2 separate regions of the Homo sapiens genome follow, and region 1 is linked to region 2. Evidence: promoter capture Hi-C in human tissues and cell types (Jung and others, 2019). All regions are on one chromosome and are shown on one strand. Each heading gives the region's core, a stretch centred on a gene start or on the middle of the fragment in contact. The rest is flanking DNA. Distances are from core to core; before and after follow the strand shown. Region 1 has its middle 9.9 kb from the start of COL5A1. Region 2 holds the start of PPP1R26 (protein phosphatase 1 regulatory subunit 26).

Region 1 (4,278 bases), core at 1,469-3,968, 850 kb before region 2:
TGGCCACAGCAGACGTGTAGGCCTCCCTGGCTGGCACCCTGTCTCCAGCCTGTCTGGGGCTGGCCCAGGCCTGGTGCCTTCTTGGTCAGCCTCACTGGACAGGCATGGGAGAGATGCCGAGGGCCAAGTCCCTGGCCCAGTCGCACAGGGGTCTTGGCACAGGTTGCTCGACCTGCCGCCTGGCACTTCCCGCCCCCAGCCCCTCCCCTGCTGGCGCTGTCCCAGCCCTTCCAGGTGCCCCATGCTGTGGGCCTGCCCACTGAGCCCTGAGCTCAGAAGTCTGTGTGGGTGAGTCCTGTGGCCACCACAGGATGGAAGGAGCACAACCTCGAAGGCTAGAGACGGATCTCTTCCCTCAGCGCTGGAGCCTGGAGTCCGCAGCCAGGGCGTCGGCAGGGCTGCACCCCCAGAGGCTCCAGGGGAGCACCCTCCTGCCTTCTCCAGCTCTGGGGGCTCAGGTGCTCCTTGGCTTGTGGCCGCCATGCTCCAGACTCCACCTCTGTCTTCACATGGGTTTTCTCTTGGCTTTTAATCTCCTCTGCATCTCTCTTATAAGGACACTGGGGGTGGTGATTGGGGCCCATGAGGCAAACGCAGGAGGATGGCCTCATTTACAGTCCTTAACCTAATTGCACCTGCACAGACCCTTTTTCCAAATAAGATCATATCCAGGGGTTCGGGGCGTGAGTGTGGGCCTCTCTTCAGGAGCCACTCTTGGCCTGCCGCAGCCGAGCTTCCCTGCCCACGCTCCTGTCCCGTGCCCCCGCCAGGCCCTGGGCGTCTGATCAGCCCTGTTTTTGCTGGAAGGTGGAAGTGAAAGAGACGGCGCCCTGGAGGAATGGGCTGGGAGGGGGTCCTGGCTCCTTCACCTGGGCGCTGTGGCCCTCAGCCTGCTTCTAGGGTCCTGAGCCTGAGTGTTCACCTCCTGTGTGGACTCTTCCTCTGTCTCCTCCTGCTGCTTCTCTGTGGCCCGAGAACCCTCCCGGAGGCTCAGCTTGTGGACCAGGCTCAAAGACTTTGAGGGTGGAATACATATGGCTTCTGGGTTCGACTCCAGTTTGAGAGTCATTTTAAATTCTATATCCGTTTTCACTTCCTCTTATGGAAGAAAATCTAATCTGGGAGGTATTTCCATTAAAAACATTGGTTTAATACTAAAAATGAAAACAAATAAAACTAGAGCCTGCTGGAAAAAATAACAGCCCCAGACGGCGTGCATCTCACATGAGCACTGCGCCACCGCACGCAGCCTCTGACCAAGCTCCCCACGTGTTCTTGCCAGCTTGAAGCCTCCTGTTGGAGACAGGTTTCTGCCCCCAACACCCAGGTGCACAGCAGGCACCATTTACCCCCCATTGCTCCAAACCATGGCTGTCTCCACCCCACTGTCTTCTCAGCCTCCAAAGCTGGAGAGCACAGGAAGACGTGGGGTACAGAGGCCTCTTTTATTGTGTCCTGGAATGTAGTGCATTGCGATGGTTAATATTGAGTGTCAACTGGATTGGATTGAAGGATGCAAAGTACTGTTCCTGGGCGTGTCTGTGGGGGTGTTGCCAAAGGAGATTCACAGTTGAGTCGGTGGACGGGGAGAGGCAGACCCACCCTCAATCCAGGTGGACAGCATCTAATCAGCTGCCAGCATGGCCAGGAGAAAGTAGGGAGAAGAACATGGAAGGAAAAGTCTGGTTGAGTCTTCTGGCCTCCATCTTTCCCCCATGCTGGATGCTTCCTGCCCTTGAACATTAGACTCCAAGTTCTTCAGCTTTTGGACTCTTGGATTTACACCAGTGATTTGCCAGGGGCTCTTGAGCCTTCGGCCACAGACTGAAGGCTGCATTGTGGGCTTCCCTACTTTTGAGGTTTTGGGACTCACACTGGCTTCCTGGCTCCTTAGCTTGCAGATGGCCTATGGTGGGACTTCACCTTGTGATCGCGTGAGTCAATTCTCCTTAATAAAATCCCCTTCATATGTACAGCTACCCTATTAGTGCTGTCCCTCTAGGGAACTCTGACTAATACGGGGTGGAAAGTGGCTCCCAAAATATACTCCCATGTCCCAGACCCCAAACCTGTGAAGATGGACTTATTTGAAAAAAGGTCCGTGCAGATGCAATCAGCTTAAGGACCTGAGATGAATGAGGACATCCTCCTGGATTAGCCAGGCTGGCCTGGCCCTAAATACCATCCCAGGTGTCCTTGTAAGATGGAGGCAGAGGAGGCCAAAACAACAGCATGCCCTGAAGACAGGTGGTGTGAAACGAAGGTAGAGATTGGAGCCACGCAAGGAAGGCCTGGAGCCGCCAGGACCGGAGCAGGCAGGGAGGAGCCTCTGAGGCACGTGACCCTGCAACATCTAGGTCTCGAGCCTCCAGAACCGGGAGAGAAACATTTCTGCTGTTTTAAGCCTCGCTGTTTGTGGTATTTTCTTATGGCAGCTCCAGGACTCCGAGGCAAGGACCATAATGAAGTTGGCGTGGCTCAAGGACTAGAATTTTTAACAAATGAAGCTTGGCTGTTTCAGCCAATGAGCAGGGCATCCTTGTCCCGCCTGAACACTGCCCTGAGAGGCAGAGGGTGTGCTCGCATGACGTCAAACAGCCTCAGGCCTTACCCCAGATGAGCGGCCGTGTATTCTCAGGGTCTGCCCGGGGGCCAGGATGCATGTAAATATGCATCCCACAGTGAAGCCCAAAAGTCATGGTGAGCTCCCTGCACTTGGGGGACCCTGTTCAAATTGCAGAATGACTTTCCCAAAGCCATGTAACACCCCAGGTCTTCAGTGTCTGTCGGCTCCCACCGCATGGCCATGGTGAGGGGATGGATGAGACAGTGAATCCATGAAACCTCTTAGCACCCGGCTCAGGAAGGGGGTCCCCAAGGCCCCATGGATGGGGATTTTTGATGAGGCTTGACGTAAGTGGGCCAGGAAGTATGGTTAGGGTGTGTGTAACCAGCAGGCAGCCCTGCCTCTCTGAGGGAAGAACGCGCCATCTGAATCTCATAGGTCACTCGCAGGGGCTCTTGCCAGACCCGGGCAGATGCGCTGGTTTCCTACCTGAGACAAATCAGTCCTATCTCAAGGCCTCAGTTTCTTTATCTGTGAAATGGGAACTGCGGCCTTTGCCTCCCTCACAGGGAAGTTAGTGCCAAGGGCCAGGAGAATGGGGGGTGGGTGGTTGCCATGTGTGAGACCATGAGAAGGAGGTGATGGTATGGAAAACAATATCCGAGAGAGGTTCCTGGATAGACTCTGTTTTCTGCTCCCTGTGGGAGGCCCTGCACAGGGTCCTGAGTGATGGGGTCCATGGTTCCCATGTGATATGGTTTGGCTCTGTGTCCCACCCAAGTCTCACCTTGAATTGTAGTAATCCCCACACGTCAAGGGCGGGACCAGGTGGAGGTCATTGAATCATAAGCGTGGTTTCCCCCATGCTGTCGTTTTGATAGTGAGTGAGTTATCGCAAAATCTGATGGTTTTATAAGGGGCTTCCCCGCTTTGCCCAGCACACATTCTCTCTCCTTCTGCTCTGTGAAGTGGTGCCTTCTGCCATGATTGTAAGTTTCCTGAAGCCTCCCCAGCCATGCGGAACTGTGCGTCAATGAAACCCCTTTTCTTTATAAATTACCCAGTCTCGGATATGTCTTCATAGCAGTGTGGGAACAGACTGATACACCACGTCTGGGAACAGGCAGGGCCACAGTGCCTACCTCGCGGGGGCCTGGCCAGAGGTGCACTCTGCAGCTGACAGTGTCCAAGGCAAAGGCCTTCAAATGATGAGAGGCACAGCCTGGGCGGGGTCCTGGGCACCGCTGCCCTTGCTGCTGGCGAGTCCCAGCCGATTCCTCCTCCACCGTGTACTGGAAGGCATCCCACCCGTCTCCCCTCTCCCTGGAAACCATAGCTGCCTCTGACTTGAGCCCCACCTCTTGTTCCTCTAAGCAATCCTCAACACTGAAGTCAGAGATCTTTCCAGGATGCAAGTATGACATAGCCTTCTCCTCTTAAAACCCTCTACGCATCCCCATTCTCCTTGGGAAGAATACAAACTCCCTGCCTAGACTGACTTGCCCTGTGCCAGCCACCCCGCTCTCCTGTCCCTGTGCCAGCCGCTCCACCCTCCTGTCTCCAGCCCCTCAGCCCCCAGGCCACCTCCTCCCTGTTCCATCACAGCCTCCTTGGAGTGGCCTTCTGTGGCTTCCTCTGGGCCTGGGCATGTGCATTCCCTCTGCAGGGGGAGAAGAGTCCAGGATGGCATCAGTGAGGGGTGGCACCTGGCC
Region 2 (4,195 bases), core at 1,049-3,548:
GCACCTGTAGTCCCAGCTACTGGGGAGGCTGAGGTGGGAGGATAACCTGAGCCGGGGGAGGTTGAGGCTGCAGTGCCATGATCACGCCACTACACTCCAGCCTGGGTGTACACAGAGTAAGACCCTGTCTCAAAAAAAAAAAAAAAAAAAAAAAAAGGTTGAACAAACAAAAAACCAAAATCCAAAGTCAAAAGAAAAATGACAGAAAAATAAATGCAATGTACAAGAGTATATTGTACTACTGTACAATATTCTGTGTTATTGTACTGTTGTACAATACACTTTTTTTCTGAGACAGAGTCTCGCTCTGTCACCCAGGCTGGAGTGCTGTGGCACCGTCTCGGTTCACTGCAACCTCCACCTCCTGGGTTCAAGCAATTCTCCTGCCTCAGCCTCCCGATTATCTGGGATTACAGGCACCCGCTACCACACCCGGTTAATTTTTGTATTTTTTAGTAGAGACGAGGTTTCATCATGTTAGCCAGGCTGGTCTCAAACTCCTGACTTCAGGTGATCTGCCCAACTTGGCCTCCCAAAGTGCTGGGATTACAGGGGTGAGCCGCCGCGCCCGACCATACATTGCATTTACGCTCTTGTACAGAGTAGCATACAGCACAGAGAAGAGCTAAATTCCTTACGGTAACAAGCTCTTAGAATCCCTAAGAAAAAGACACACAGCCCAACAGAAAAATAAAAAATGGGCAAAGAACACAGACAGGCAATATTCCAAATGGCCAATAATAAAATGAAAAGATGTTCAACATCACCAGCAGTCAAAGAAATTAGGATTCAAGTGATGAAAAGGGCTGTTTCGCCTATCAGACTGCCAAAGACATAACGCAATGACATATCTCAGGGCTGGCAAGAGGACAGGCAAGCGGGCATGCCCGCTCACCAGTGGGTGGACGGCAGGCTGGCCCCGCATTTCTGGAGGGCATTTTGGCAAAATGCAGCATAGTCTTTGGCCCGCCGGCCTCTTCTAGGGATTTGCCCGCAGGAAATGCTCAGAGCCGCTCTAAGGAGGCATCATGAAAGCTGTTCACCACAGCACTGTTTTAAAAACTGTGAAGCAGCATGCCAAAACCTTAACAGCCCATGTCTCTGGGAAGTCACCTTATTAATTAGATCATCTCCCCAAAGTTTGGTAATGAAAGAGTATTATTTCATGAGAAAAAAAAAATTGCTTTTTGAAAAAATTCACGAAGGCATTAAAACAATTCTTTAATGGGTTTCCTGACCCAAAACTGGCCCTCCAGCTTCCCAGGCTGGCATGACTAGAAGCACCCCTCCAAGGCAAGTCTCTGATTTTGATCCTATCAAATCTCTGACACTTTCTAGACAGGAACCGAACCCACAAATTCATCTCCCAGACACGTGTGGATCAGGGCCCAGGGGGCTTACAGAAGCAGCGCGGTGCCCCTGCGCACCATCTGCCCCTTCCACGAGTGGGCGCTGAGGGAGGATCCAGTCGGGTCTGCCCGTTCCCCGCCGCCCGGGGATGCTGAGCACACCCGGGCCACCGCCAGCCTCGGGCACACACCCTGGACCTTTTATAAAACAAAACTGGGAAGACTTTCAAGGTCACATGGTCAGTGCACAGCAGAAGCAGAAACAGCAGCGGCCTCAAGGTCCGGGGCAGTTCCTAGAAACTGTTCCCTCCCCCGAACCTGGCGGCAGGTGTGCTCGAGGAGCCGCCGCCCCGGGCAGGTCGTGCGTCCACTCCCCGCCGCAAGCTCGGGTGGGGCAGCCGCGGGGACACGCGGGGGCCGCCCCCGACCCCGGCCCAAGGCTGTGGGGCTGGAGGGGCGGGCGGGCCGGTCTCAGCCCGGAGCCCCGCGTGAACTTCGGGGAGGAACTCGGTTGGCGCCGGGGCCCCGCACGCTCCCTTCCCGCGGCTCCGAGCGCTTTCCCACGGCCACGCCCCCCGCGCCCAGAACTTCCCGGCGACCCCGCGCCCCCTGCGCGCCCCCCGGAGGTGGCCGCGGTACGGGAGGCGGGCAGCACGGGGCTCGGCCCGGCCCAAGCGCCTTCGCCCCGCACCCCGCGGAGGGGGCCGCGTCCGAACCGGGCGGGGCGGGGCGGGGGCGTCCCCGGGGCGCGGGCGCGGCGGCAGGTGGGCGCGCTCTCGCGGGCGGGGGTCCGGCCGGGCCGCGCGCCTCCCCCGGAACTCGGCCGTGCCATTCCCATGATGCCCAGCCACGGGCACGGCTTCCGGAGTGCGGCCGCCGCCGCCACCGTCCGGTAGGTCGCGGGGAGGGGGCGGCTTGGGGGGGTCGCCCCGCCCCCCGCCCCGCCCCTCCCCTCCCGCGCTTCCCACGGCGCGGCCCGGGCGCGGGGCGGCGGCAGCGGCGGCGCGCGGGGAGGCGGGGAGGCGGGGGGCCCGGCCGGACGCCCCTGCGCCCCCTCCCCGCGCCCCGGCCGAGGGCGGAGCGCGCTGGCCCTGCAGCCTCCGGCCCGCCCCCGGCCCGCCGCCTCCCCCGGGACGTGGGACGCGGGCGCAGGCGGGGTCCGCGCGGCGGGCGGCGGGGGACGGGCGGAGGTGAGCGGGTGCAGGGCCGGGGCCGGGGGGCTCGGGGGCTGGGAAGCTGGGGGGTCGGGGACAGGAGGGCCAGCCAGGCCGGGGCCGGCGCGCCGTGCAGGCCGCGGCGGGCGGGCGGCGGGGGCTCCCCGAGGCAGGCGGACGGGGATCGGCGCCGGGGCTGCTCCGTTCCCCGGGCGGGGATCCTGTCTCTGGCCTCCGTGCGACTCTCGGCCCGCGCGCCCCGCGCTCCTGGAGCCCCAGGTGAGGCGCAGGTGAGGGCCCGCGGTGGGGAGCTTTGGCCCGGCCCGGGGCGGCCGCTGCCCTCCGAGAATGGCCGCGGCCCGGCCGGCCTGGAGACTGCGGTTCACGCCCTGCGCCAGGCGGAGCTTCCGGGAGGGTGGCCGCTCTCCCGGGCCCCAAGCTCGCTAGTCCTCGGATCCCAGAAACATAACTCCGGGGGTGCAGACCTGCTTGGAGGCCCGGCCTCTTCCCTGGGAGGCGTTCACTCCCGCCGGGCCGAGGACCAGGTCGCCGATCCCAGCGGCTAGGGTGAGCGCGCCCTCGGGGAGGGGAGCTCCCTTGGGGGACCCTGCCCAGCCCGCAGGCCGTGAGTAGCCCAAGCTTGGGAGTCAGGGGAGGTCGGGCCGGGGCAGCCGGGAGGGGCTCACCTTGCCTTCAGTTCCCAAGCACAGGAAATGGCGGTGCAGCTTTGCTGGGGGACGCTTGTAGTGAGGTTGTAAAATTGCAGCTTCTGGAAGGCTGGGAGCTGAATTCTAGCCCACGCCCACTTCTGGGTGGCTGGAGCGGGTCCTCCTGCTGCCCCGCCCGCTCCTGCACCGGGGCTCCTCTCCCTGGCCTGCAGACCCTGGCCTCCCTACCCTGGGGGGAAACCCCACCTGGGAGGTAAGACCGCTGGCTGAGCTGCTTTTCGGCCAACCGAGAAATGTAGAGTATTTGGGGGCGTTTCTCACAGGTGGGCAGACTGTTAGGATGGCGAGGGCCCAGTGTGGGTGCTTTGGTTCTCTCCAGAAGGTTGATGTCTGGACCGAGAAGGTACCCGAGTGTTCTCCACCGCTTCCTAAAATCTGACACCGTGTGGCCTTGGGGTGCAGGTGCTGGGTGTCCCCACAGCCACCCTCAAGACCGTATCCTGAGGCAGCAATTTGACAAAGCCTGCACCTCTGGCTTGGGCCCACACCTATCTCTAAGGACTGATTAGGGGGCTTTTCTTGTTTTTTTTTTTTTTTTTTTTTTAGAGCCAGAGTCTCGCTTTGTCGCCCAGGCTGGAGTGCAATGGCTGATCTCGGCTCACTGTAATCTCCGCCTCCCTGGTTCAAGCGATTCTCGTGCCTCAGCCCCTGGAGTAGCTGGAACTACAGACGTGGGCTCCCACGCCCAGCTAATTTATGTGTTTTTAGTAGAGATGGGGTTTCGCCATGTTGGCCAGGCTGGTCTCGAACTCCTGGCCTCAAGTGATCCACCTGCCTCCACCTCCCAGAGTGCTGGGATTACAGGTGTGAGCCACTATCCCCGACCCAGGGGGCTTTTCAAGAATGATTCATCTCGCATAATGTTTTAAAGCCACAAGCTGTCCTGGGGAGACGACCCCCCTCGATTTTTTTTTTTCTTTCTGAGATGGAGTCTCGTTCTGTCTCCTAGGCTGGAGTGCAGTGG

What was found. The method cuts DNA at HindIII sites, captures the fragments that hold promoters and counts their contacts. A contact is called where the count stands out against the background at its distance.
Region 1: a fragment that was not itself captured here is called in contact with the fragment with the promoter of PPP1R26 in region 2 in 1 of the 25 tissues and cell types used here (lymphoblastoid cells).

The regions. Positions count from the first base shown.
Region 1 is chr9:134,629,771-134,634,048 of GRCh38, forward strand. No RefSeq gene overlaps it. Among named protein-coding and RNA genes, the nearest start is that of COL5A1, 9.9 kb to the right of the region's middle. The HindIII fragment of the contact is 7,228 bases long and covers 1-4,278 here.
Region 2 is chr9:135,477,484-135,481,678 of GRCh38, forward strand. PPP1R26 (protein phosphatase 1 regulatory subunit 26) reads left to right here and starts at 2,299. Exons shown (of 4, transcript NM_014811.5): 1 at 2,299-2,539. RefSeq lists silencers at 2,821-2,880, 2,891-2,940. The HindIII fragment of the contact is 17,940 bases long and covers 1-4,195 here.